Regions from separate parts of the Homo sapiens genome. Here all the other regions are linked to region 1. Evidence: promoter capture Hi-C in 16 types of primary human blood cells and fetal thymus (Javierre and others, 2016). All regions are on one chromosome and are shown on one strand. Each heading gives the region's core, a stretch centred on a gene start or on the middle of the fragment in contact. The rest is flanking DNA. Distances are from core to core; before and after follow the strand shown. Region 1 holds the start of ALDH3A1 (aldehyde dehydrogenase 3 family member A1). Region 2 overlaps LOC105371574 (a long non-coding RNA gene). Region 3 has its middle 16 kb from the start of LINC02094.

Evidence for each region. Contacts are between HindIII fragments. The CHiCAGO score rates a contact against its expected background, and 5 or more counts as called.
Region 2: a fragment that was not itself captured here is called in contact with the fragment with the promoter of ALDH3A1 in region 1 in 1 of 17 cell types (M2 macrophages); the score reaches 5.8 in M2 macrophages.
Region 3: a contact is called between a fragment that was not itself captured here and the fragment with the promoter of ALDH3A1 in region 1, in 3 of 17 cell types (naive CD8 T cells, naive CD4 T cells and naive B cells). The highest score is 5.5, in naive CD8 T cells.

What each region holds. Positions count from the first base shown.
Region 1 is chr17:19,746,963-19,749,662 of GRCh38, reverse strand. ALDH3A1 (aldehyde dehydrogenase 3 family member A1) reads left to right here and starts at 1,365. Exons shown (of 11, transcript NM_000691.5): 1 at 1,365-1,404. The HindIII fragment of the contact is 17,326 bases long and covers 1-2,700 here.
Region 2 is chr17:19,454,295-19,456,994 of GRCh38, reverse strand. All of the region lies in intron 1 of LOC105371574 (a long non-coding RNA gene), which reads left to right. Among named protein-coding and RNA genes, the nearest start is that of LINC02094, 37 kb to the right of the region's middle. The HindIII fragment of the contact is 1,041 bases long and covers 837-1,877 here.
Region 3 is chr17:19,432,722-19,435,421 of GRCh38, reverse strand. No RefSeq gene overlaps it. Among named protein-coding and RNA genes, the nearest start is that of LINC02094, 16 kb to the right of the region's middle. RefSeq lists an enhancer at 1,687-2,225. The HindIII fragment of the contact is 178 bases long and covers 1,256-1,433 here.

The DNA.
Region 1 (2,700 bases), core at 116-2,615:
GGAGAGTCATTCACCTCCACACCTCCTGCTGGCAACAGTGGACACATCGCACTTTTTCGTGACATAACGTTCCCAGCCTCTGTGCCTTTGCTTCTGCTCTTCCAGCCCCCTTGCTGTTCCTTGCCCAAATGCTTCTCACTCAGCTCAGATGATGTTCCCTCCCACGGACTCTCACCCCAGCCCCTCTAGCATCCTCTGCCTACCTGGTTACTACAGTGTTCACATTATTTTGAAATTTCCTGTTTATTTTGTCAGTCAATAAATATTTATTGAGCATCTACTATAAATGCTGTATGGAGGTTACAGCAGTGAACAAATCAAATTCTAGCTGTCAGGAGTTAAGGGACAGGTAGCAAACAAGATATAAACGCTCCAGAGAAAAAATAATGGAGGAAGACGACAGCATTGTGCTATTTTCCACAGCACATTGGAGCGTAGCCGTGTGGGTGGATGTAGGGGAAGGGGGCTCCAGGTGGAGAGAAGCAGGAGGGCCAGAGCACATCCTCAGGACTCGTAGGCCAGGACCGGAACCTTGTGTTTTCCTCGAATGAAATGGGAAGCAGGGACCCCATGCTGGTAAGCAGTCTGCCTGCAGGCGGGTGAGGGTGGCGGGAAGCGCCTGGTGAGAGGGGCCGAGAGTCTGTTCCACACCTGCCTCCTCCCCACAGCGTGGTGCAGAGCAGGAGCCCAGCGAACATTGATCAGACAGCGTGGGAACGGCTTTTCCAGACTCCTTCCTTCCCAAGCATCTCTGGTTTTCGGTGACCACACAGACCCTTGGCCCTCTTCTCAGCTATTCAACGAGAGAGCAGATTTATGGATTGGAGACCCCCATCAAAAGTCCCCAGCCTGTGGCTCCCCAGGGTTAGGATCTCTGACTCAATGGGGCCCTGTGCACACTGGGGGATGTGAAGGGCCCGGGGCAGCGGTGGCTGGGGGTGCGTTTCGGGGGAGCTGCATGCTCTCACTGTGGTTCGTGGCTGAGCCCTGCCGATCTTATGTAACCAGAGAACTCAGAGAACCGCATCTGGCAGCGGCAAGTCTGGAAAGCTGGAAGAGCTCCATGCCAGGCTGAATCAATCAGCAGCCCCCACGCCCAGGGCAAACATAGGCTCTTTTGAAGATTGGAGATGTGCCCTGCCCAAGCCTTCAGAAACATTCTCGCATTTCAGAAGTGAACAAAAGCAAACAGCCCGGGACCTAATCCCCAAAACCTGGGCTGTAGGGAGCAGAGGTCCAGAGGACGCCACACCCCACATTTGAATATTTTTTTTTCTTGTCACGCAAACTTCCTGGGCAGGAACTCCAAGGGCTCAATGGACGGGAAGCAGGGTCCTTAAATACGTCCCCTCTTGGCTCTTGCCGTTCCAGGAGCCCCAGTTACCGGGAGAGGCTGTGTCAAAGGTAATCCTCTTCCCTGCATTCCTTATTTTTTCTCTTGTCTAGGTGGAGTCTGCACTCAGAGCCGGGGCCCTAAGTGTCAAGAGTCCTACATCATCTCTCCAGGGGGTCCCTGCCTCTGGGACCATCATCTCTGGAGCATCCTCCTGGACCTCTGGCAGCTCTGCCATCCCCCAAACCAGGAGGCAGAGGTCCCAGGGATCCGCGGAGCAGGGACACCAAGGTGGCCGTGGAGTGAGAGGCCCTGATGGGCCGTCAGACTCCATGACTGGAAGGAAGGCAGCAGAGCCGAGTGCTAAAGGCATGAGCTGCTGACAGAGATGCATGTGGGTTCAAACCCTGACATGCCACCTGCTAACTGTGAGATCAGATACAGCATTAAACGTTTCTCAGTCTCCCTTTCCTCATCTGTAAAATGCACTCATAACCGTTTCTTCTTCATGGGCATCACTACAGAGCTTTTGTGAGGATGGAAGGCAATGAGGAGGGGAGGAGGTGTCACTGGGGGGCAAAGTCAACACTGGCACAGGTGAGAGGAGCGGGGTGCAGGAATGTGGGGTGTGAGGCGACGGGCTCTGGGGAGGCCCCCAGTGCATGCTGCAGCAGCTCCCATTTGGGTGCAGCTGCGACGTGATGGTGTCCACTCATCTCTGTGAAGTGGCACCTTTGTTAACCTGTCTCTCGGGGAAGTCCTGGGAAGGCCGTCCAGCCCAGAGACCACAGTTCCAAGTGGCGATGCTGGGGTGCAAGGCCAATCCCGTCCCACGCTCACCAGGCTCTTCCCACCTGGGCTGCCTGCCTTGGTTTGACCGTACAAGGCTCGGGAGAGAAGCGGGACCTTCTCTCCTGGGTTGTGGTCAGCAGGAGGGGCCTGGCCCATGGGACTGAGGAGGTCCCAGTGAGGGGGCTTTCCCAGCCTCCTATCAGAACATAGGGAGGGACCATGGAAGGGCCAGGCTTAGAGCACCCTCAATGCCAGCAGGTCCCTCCTCCCTGTGCAGAAAGCCTGGGATTAGGGGTCAGCCTATGGGGAGGGGAGGCAGAGGAAGGATTGGAAGCCACTCGCTGGAATGTAGGCAGGACCATATATCTATATACAATATAATTATATATTACATATGATATATAGGGTTTTTTAAAAAAATGGAAATACCCTATTTCTGCTGATGTTAAAAGTTATGCCGGGTCTGCAAGTGGGCTGAGTATCTCAGGAAGGGGAGTAAGGAACTGGTAACAGTGGCCCCTCTGTGGGGCAGCACCTGACAGCTGATGGAGCAGGGAGGAGGGAGGCAGACTTTT
Region 2 (2,700 bases), core at 108-2,607, 290 kb after region 1:
TAATATCAAATACAGTCGTCCCTTGATCTATGTGGGGACTGGTTCCAGGACCAATGGCATATAACCAGATCCCCACATACTCAACTTCCACAGTCAGCCCTGCCAAACCTCCTTGCAGGAAAAGTCAACACTCTGTAAATGTGGGCTTTGCATCCCATGAATACTGTATTTTTCATCCTCATTCGGTTGAAAAAGAGCTGCGTGTAAGTGGACTCATGCCGTTCAAACCTGTGTTGTTCGAGGGTCAACTGTGCAGCGCTATAATCACTGAGTAGCCACAGGGGAGGACAGATCTCCCTCCACAGACTGATTTTGTTTTCCTGAGAACAAGGACCCTCTCCTCCCTCCAGTCACATTGAAACTGGCTTTGCAAAAATTGTAACAGTGAGAAAATTATGGCAGAGGGGGAGATCTGATCTAGCCAACCCCACTCTTGCCTTTAGCCTTCAAGCTGCCTTTAATTATTCCTGGGCTTCGGCCAAGCTAACTTTGAGAGACATTTAGTTTATAGTTTAAATTTTAATAGCCCTTTCCCAAAACTCAATTGCCTTTGTAAAGCTAGTGAGTGACCACCAGGCTAGGAGGAAGAGAAGCCTGGATTCTGCCAAGGAGTACACATAAACAATCACTACCATTATTCCAGAGCTCACAAGACATGCAATTTCCCCACTTACTCCTGCAGATAACATCACTATTGTAGAATCTAAGATTGGCCTTTTGAGATATCTTTTCAGGATTTTTGCATGTCTGACACCAATGGCTCCACCTGGACCCACCAGGATCTGCCAACTGCTCCTGTGGCCCCACCCAGAAATGATTCAGTGCAAGAGGAAGCTTCAATCCCCTGATTTCATCTCTGAACCAACCAATCAGCACTTCCCATACCCTAGCCCCCTGCCCACCAAACTACTTTTGAAAAACCCCTACCCTATGAGCCTTCAAGGAGATTGATCTTCTGTTTGTTTGTTTGTTTTTGTTTTTTGAGACAGAGTCTCTCTCTGTCAGCCAGGCTGGAGTGCAGTGGCACCATCTCAGCTCACTGCAACCTCCACCTCCTGGGTTCAAGCAATTCTCATCCTTCAGCCTCCCGAGTAGCTGGGATTACAGGCACCCACCACCACACCCAGGTAATTTTTGTATTTTTAAAACAGAGGCGGGGTTTCACCATGTTGGACAGGCTGTTCTCGAACTCCTGACCTGCACTCAAGTGATCTGCCTGCCTTGGCCTCCCAAAGTGCTGGGATTACAGGTGTGAGCCACCATGTCCAGCCCAAGGAGATTGATTTGAGTAATAATTTTTGTCTCCCACATGGCGTGAGCAGCCTTACATCTGTTCAACTCTTTCTTTACTGCAATGCATTGGTCTCCTTTGTGCAGTGGCCAGGAAGAACCCATCAGGCAGCTACAGCATCACTGTGAGGAGAGAGGGAAGGTTCTCACTCCAGCAAAAATGGGAGTACTTGGGGGCCTCATCACACATGTTTATAAATGGTACCCTAAATGAGTGACTGAGGCAAGGCTCAATGATTTGAGGTTTAGTAAGCTAGAGCTTGAGGGCACATCTGAGGAAAAACTCAAGCCAGAGACGCACCTGTGGCTGTTTTTTTGTGGAGAAGTTTTCAGGAGCTTCTGTACATATAAATTTCCTTAAAGTGGGGGAATGCATGTAGGAAAAGGGGCAGGTAGGTGGCAAGGCAAATGTTACATTCTTGTGAGACTTTAGTTAGTGTCCAGTAAACCTACATTTTACATCAGATAAGGTGAATGTTTGAAGGAAGAGGGGAGTAAAGGAGGTCTCAATTATGCTGATGTCTCTTGGTAGGGGAAGGAATGGTTGATCTCATGCCGACTTTGTTCTGCCCCTCGGAAGATAAGCTTGTAATGGACATTGTCAGCGTGGAATGCAACAACAGACTTTAGTTTTAGGAGCTGGACTTGGATTGCACATCTCAAGTCCTTATTTATGGGAAGAAAGACATCTTGAAAGGTGTGTGAAAGGAAAATAAATATTGAGACTCCCAAACTCACTCAGCCAGAGGGAAAAGTCAAGCTGGGAACCAGCGCATGCAAACCTGCCTCCCATTTTGGGTCACAAATAAGATGGCTGCAAAGATGAAAAGCTACATACCTCCCTCACATTTTAGGGTAAAGATCCTTATGGGCCTCAAGATCTTTACTCTAAAATGTTTCTCTTGCAGTTCACCATGGCAATGTAAATTGATAGCTTATCTTCACAGGTGCTGGGACATACGACAGAGCTCAGATTCATGCTTCTGCCCATGTGAGACAAATGCATATCTTACTGTTTCCTCTGCCCTATGGTCTATGGCATCTCATGTAAAAATTCAGATTCACTGAGCCAGGCAAAGGCATGAATGACTGTTTTTCCCTACCCCGCTCTCACATGAAAGTTGTGTATTTCTCAATATTCCGCCCATTCCCCTTTAAATATTGAAGCCACCAAAATTATCTTCAGAGAAAGGCATAGACCTGTCTCTGGGAGTGCATCCTTAACTTTGGCAAATAGGCCTCCCAAAATGATTGAGACTTGCCTGGGTTATTTTCCTTGATTGACAGTAAGTCAAGTCAATTGACATAAGAGTTTACTTATGAGTGCTTTGTGGGGGTTGTCATCTGGAGATGCCTGAGGCCCTTCCATGGGGGTCTAGCTAATGCCTAATGCTTTGACACAAGGTTGTG
Region 3 (2,700 bases), core at 95-2,594, 310 kb after region 1:
TCGGGAAGTGGAGGTTGCAGTGAGCCGAGATCGTGCCATTGCACTCCAGCCTGGGTAACAAGAGCAAAATTCTGTCTCAAAAATAACAAAAACAAAACAAAAAACCCAACTTGTTTAATCTTGGCCGGGCATGGCAGCTTACACCTATTGTATGCCCGGTACTTTGGGAGGCGGAGGTGGGTGGATCATCTGAGGTCAGGAGTTTGTGACCAGCCTGGCCAATATAGTGAAACCCCGTCTCTACCAAAAATACAAAAATTAGCTGGGCGTGGTGGCACATGCCTACAGTCCCAGCTACTCAGGAAGCTGAGGCAAGAGAATCGCTTGAACCCAGGAGGCGGAGGTGCAGTGAGCTGAGATTGTGCCACTGCACTCCAGCCTGGGCAACACAGTGAGACTCCATTTAAAAAATAAAAAATAAAACTTGTTTAATTCTAAACAGGTCCTGTTAAGAATTCCTTCATTATCCTGTCATGCTTCAAGGCCCAGAAAAGGCCTAAGCAAGACTCTTGGTGGGCTTCTGTTATATTCCAGCCTTTGTATAGGGGCCCTGGGTCTTTCAGCTTTTAATATTTAACCTAACCACTCAGTGCCGAAGCAGTTGGCATGGAGGCCTGCCTGTTCAGCTGTTAGTGAGACCTGGCCTGCCACAGTAGAATTTAATTCAAAAGTTGGTATTAGACGATAGACCAGTAGCATACTTCTCAGTTCTTCTGGGTACCTGGATGCCTTCGAGCTATGGCAGGAGCTGCTACACTTATTATAGGGGCTCAAGCCCTTACTTTGGGTCTTAATAAGAGAGATGAAAAAAACAAACTGCTTTTCCTACTCACACCACTCAACACAACACTTCACTTCTGACACCAGATGTCTGTGGGCTTGTCCTCACACACTAAGCAGTTCTACAGTGGATACCAAGTGGGAGTCCTCCCATTCAATTCAATTCTGACACTCTACCTGGGCATAGTGTCAGATCCCACAGGTTAAGGCTTAGTTCTATTTTCACAAGACTGGCCTATTTTCAGACACCAATTGCAAGTAGCAGGTTGTCACCTATGCATCTAACTGAGCAGCTATAAATTGGGGTTCCCACAACCCCGTTCTAATTTGTTAGGAAGTTCACAGAACTCAAGGAAACATTTACTTATGTTTACCAGCTTATTATATTAGTAAGGAATATTACAGAGGATGTAGATGAATAGCCAGGCAGAAGTGATCCATAGGGCAAGGTATGGAAGGTAAGGGGCAATAAGCTTCCATGTCCTGTCCTGCAGCACACCCCCATGGCATCCTGTAAGCATGCCACCCTACAGACAGCTCCATCTATTCAGCAATTCAGAAGCTCTCTGAACCCCATCTTTTTGGAATGTTCTGGAGGCTCATTATGTAGGCATGATTGATCAATCATTGGCCATTGGTAATCAACTCAAGCTTCAGGCCCTCTCTACTCTCCAGTGTTAGAAGGTGGGGCTGAAAGTGCCAAACCTCTAATTGTATGGTTGGTTTCCGTGTCAACCAGCCCCATCCTAAGGCTATCTGGGAACCCCCAGCCACTAATCATCTCACTAGCATACAAAAAGACACTTATCACTCCAGACATCCCAAGAGTTTAGGAGCTGGTATGCCAGGAACCAGGAACAAAAATCAAAATCACAATATCAAAGCATCTGAAGGAAATCAAATGATTTTACCATAAAATATATTTTCTCGACATAGCTCAAGGCAGATATTCAGAAGGGTTGGAAATACAAAAATAACTAAAAAGCTGCCTTTTGTGGGGGAGATTTGCATCTGTAGAGAAATCTGCACTGATGAAGCCAGGCTGTCTCTGAGGCCTTCCCTCATCCAGATCTGGGAAAGATTAAGCGAGAGTCTGACACCTTTAAAGTCTAACAGAAACATTCACCACCTATTCTCTCTCGAGGGCCGCTACCTGTGAGGCTTCATCTACATAACAAGACCCCCTTTGCTAGCCAGCCCTCCTCTTCTTCCCCTCCATAACCTCTGTTGCCGCCATAAACTGATCTAACACTGTAATCTGGTTTTGGCCCTGCTGTGAGCCCCCATTGTTAATGTAACCTCAAGATAGTACATAAGCTTCAGAACCCCACTGGGGAGTGGGGGTAATCACTGCGATTTTCCTTCTGTGGATATTAGTACATTTCTATGTCATTTCTCCTATTAATTTACCTATTGTGAGTTGATTTTTCAGCAGAATTTTCCCTTGCCCCCTAAGTTTTGGTGCTGTGAGCAGGATACTATTGACAGAAAGGTTACATAACAGGCACTATAACTTAAAGAAATTTAAAGTTAGTTTTATCCCGAGTGAAGTTTGAGGACTAATTCTCTGGGAAATACAGACTCAGAACAAACCAAAAATGTCTCCCCAAGTGGGCTACACGAGATAGTATTTATACATTCTGTTACATGGAAATGGAGAAGCAAAGGTGACATTCCTACAATTCTGATTGGTGCTCAGTGACGTTGTACATAAGATAAAGCAAATACGTGGTTAACATATATAGGGTGTGAAAATAAGTAATTCAAAATCTAAGCTTTTGGAACCTTAAAATATTTTGAGCCTTAAGGGAATGTGATTATGGGACCTGAGTCACATAAACTGGCAGCTGTAACCTAGGAAGCTGTAACTTTTGTTTCCCTGATTATACATTAGTCTTTTTTCTTACCTAAATTATTTTG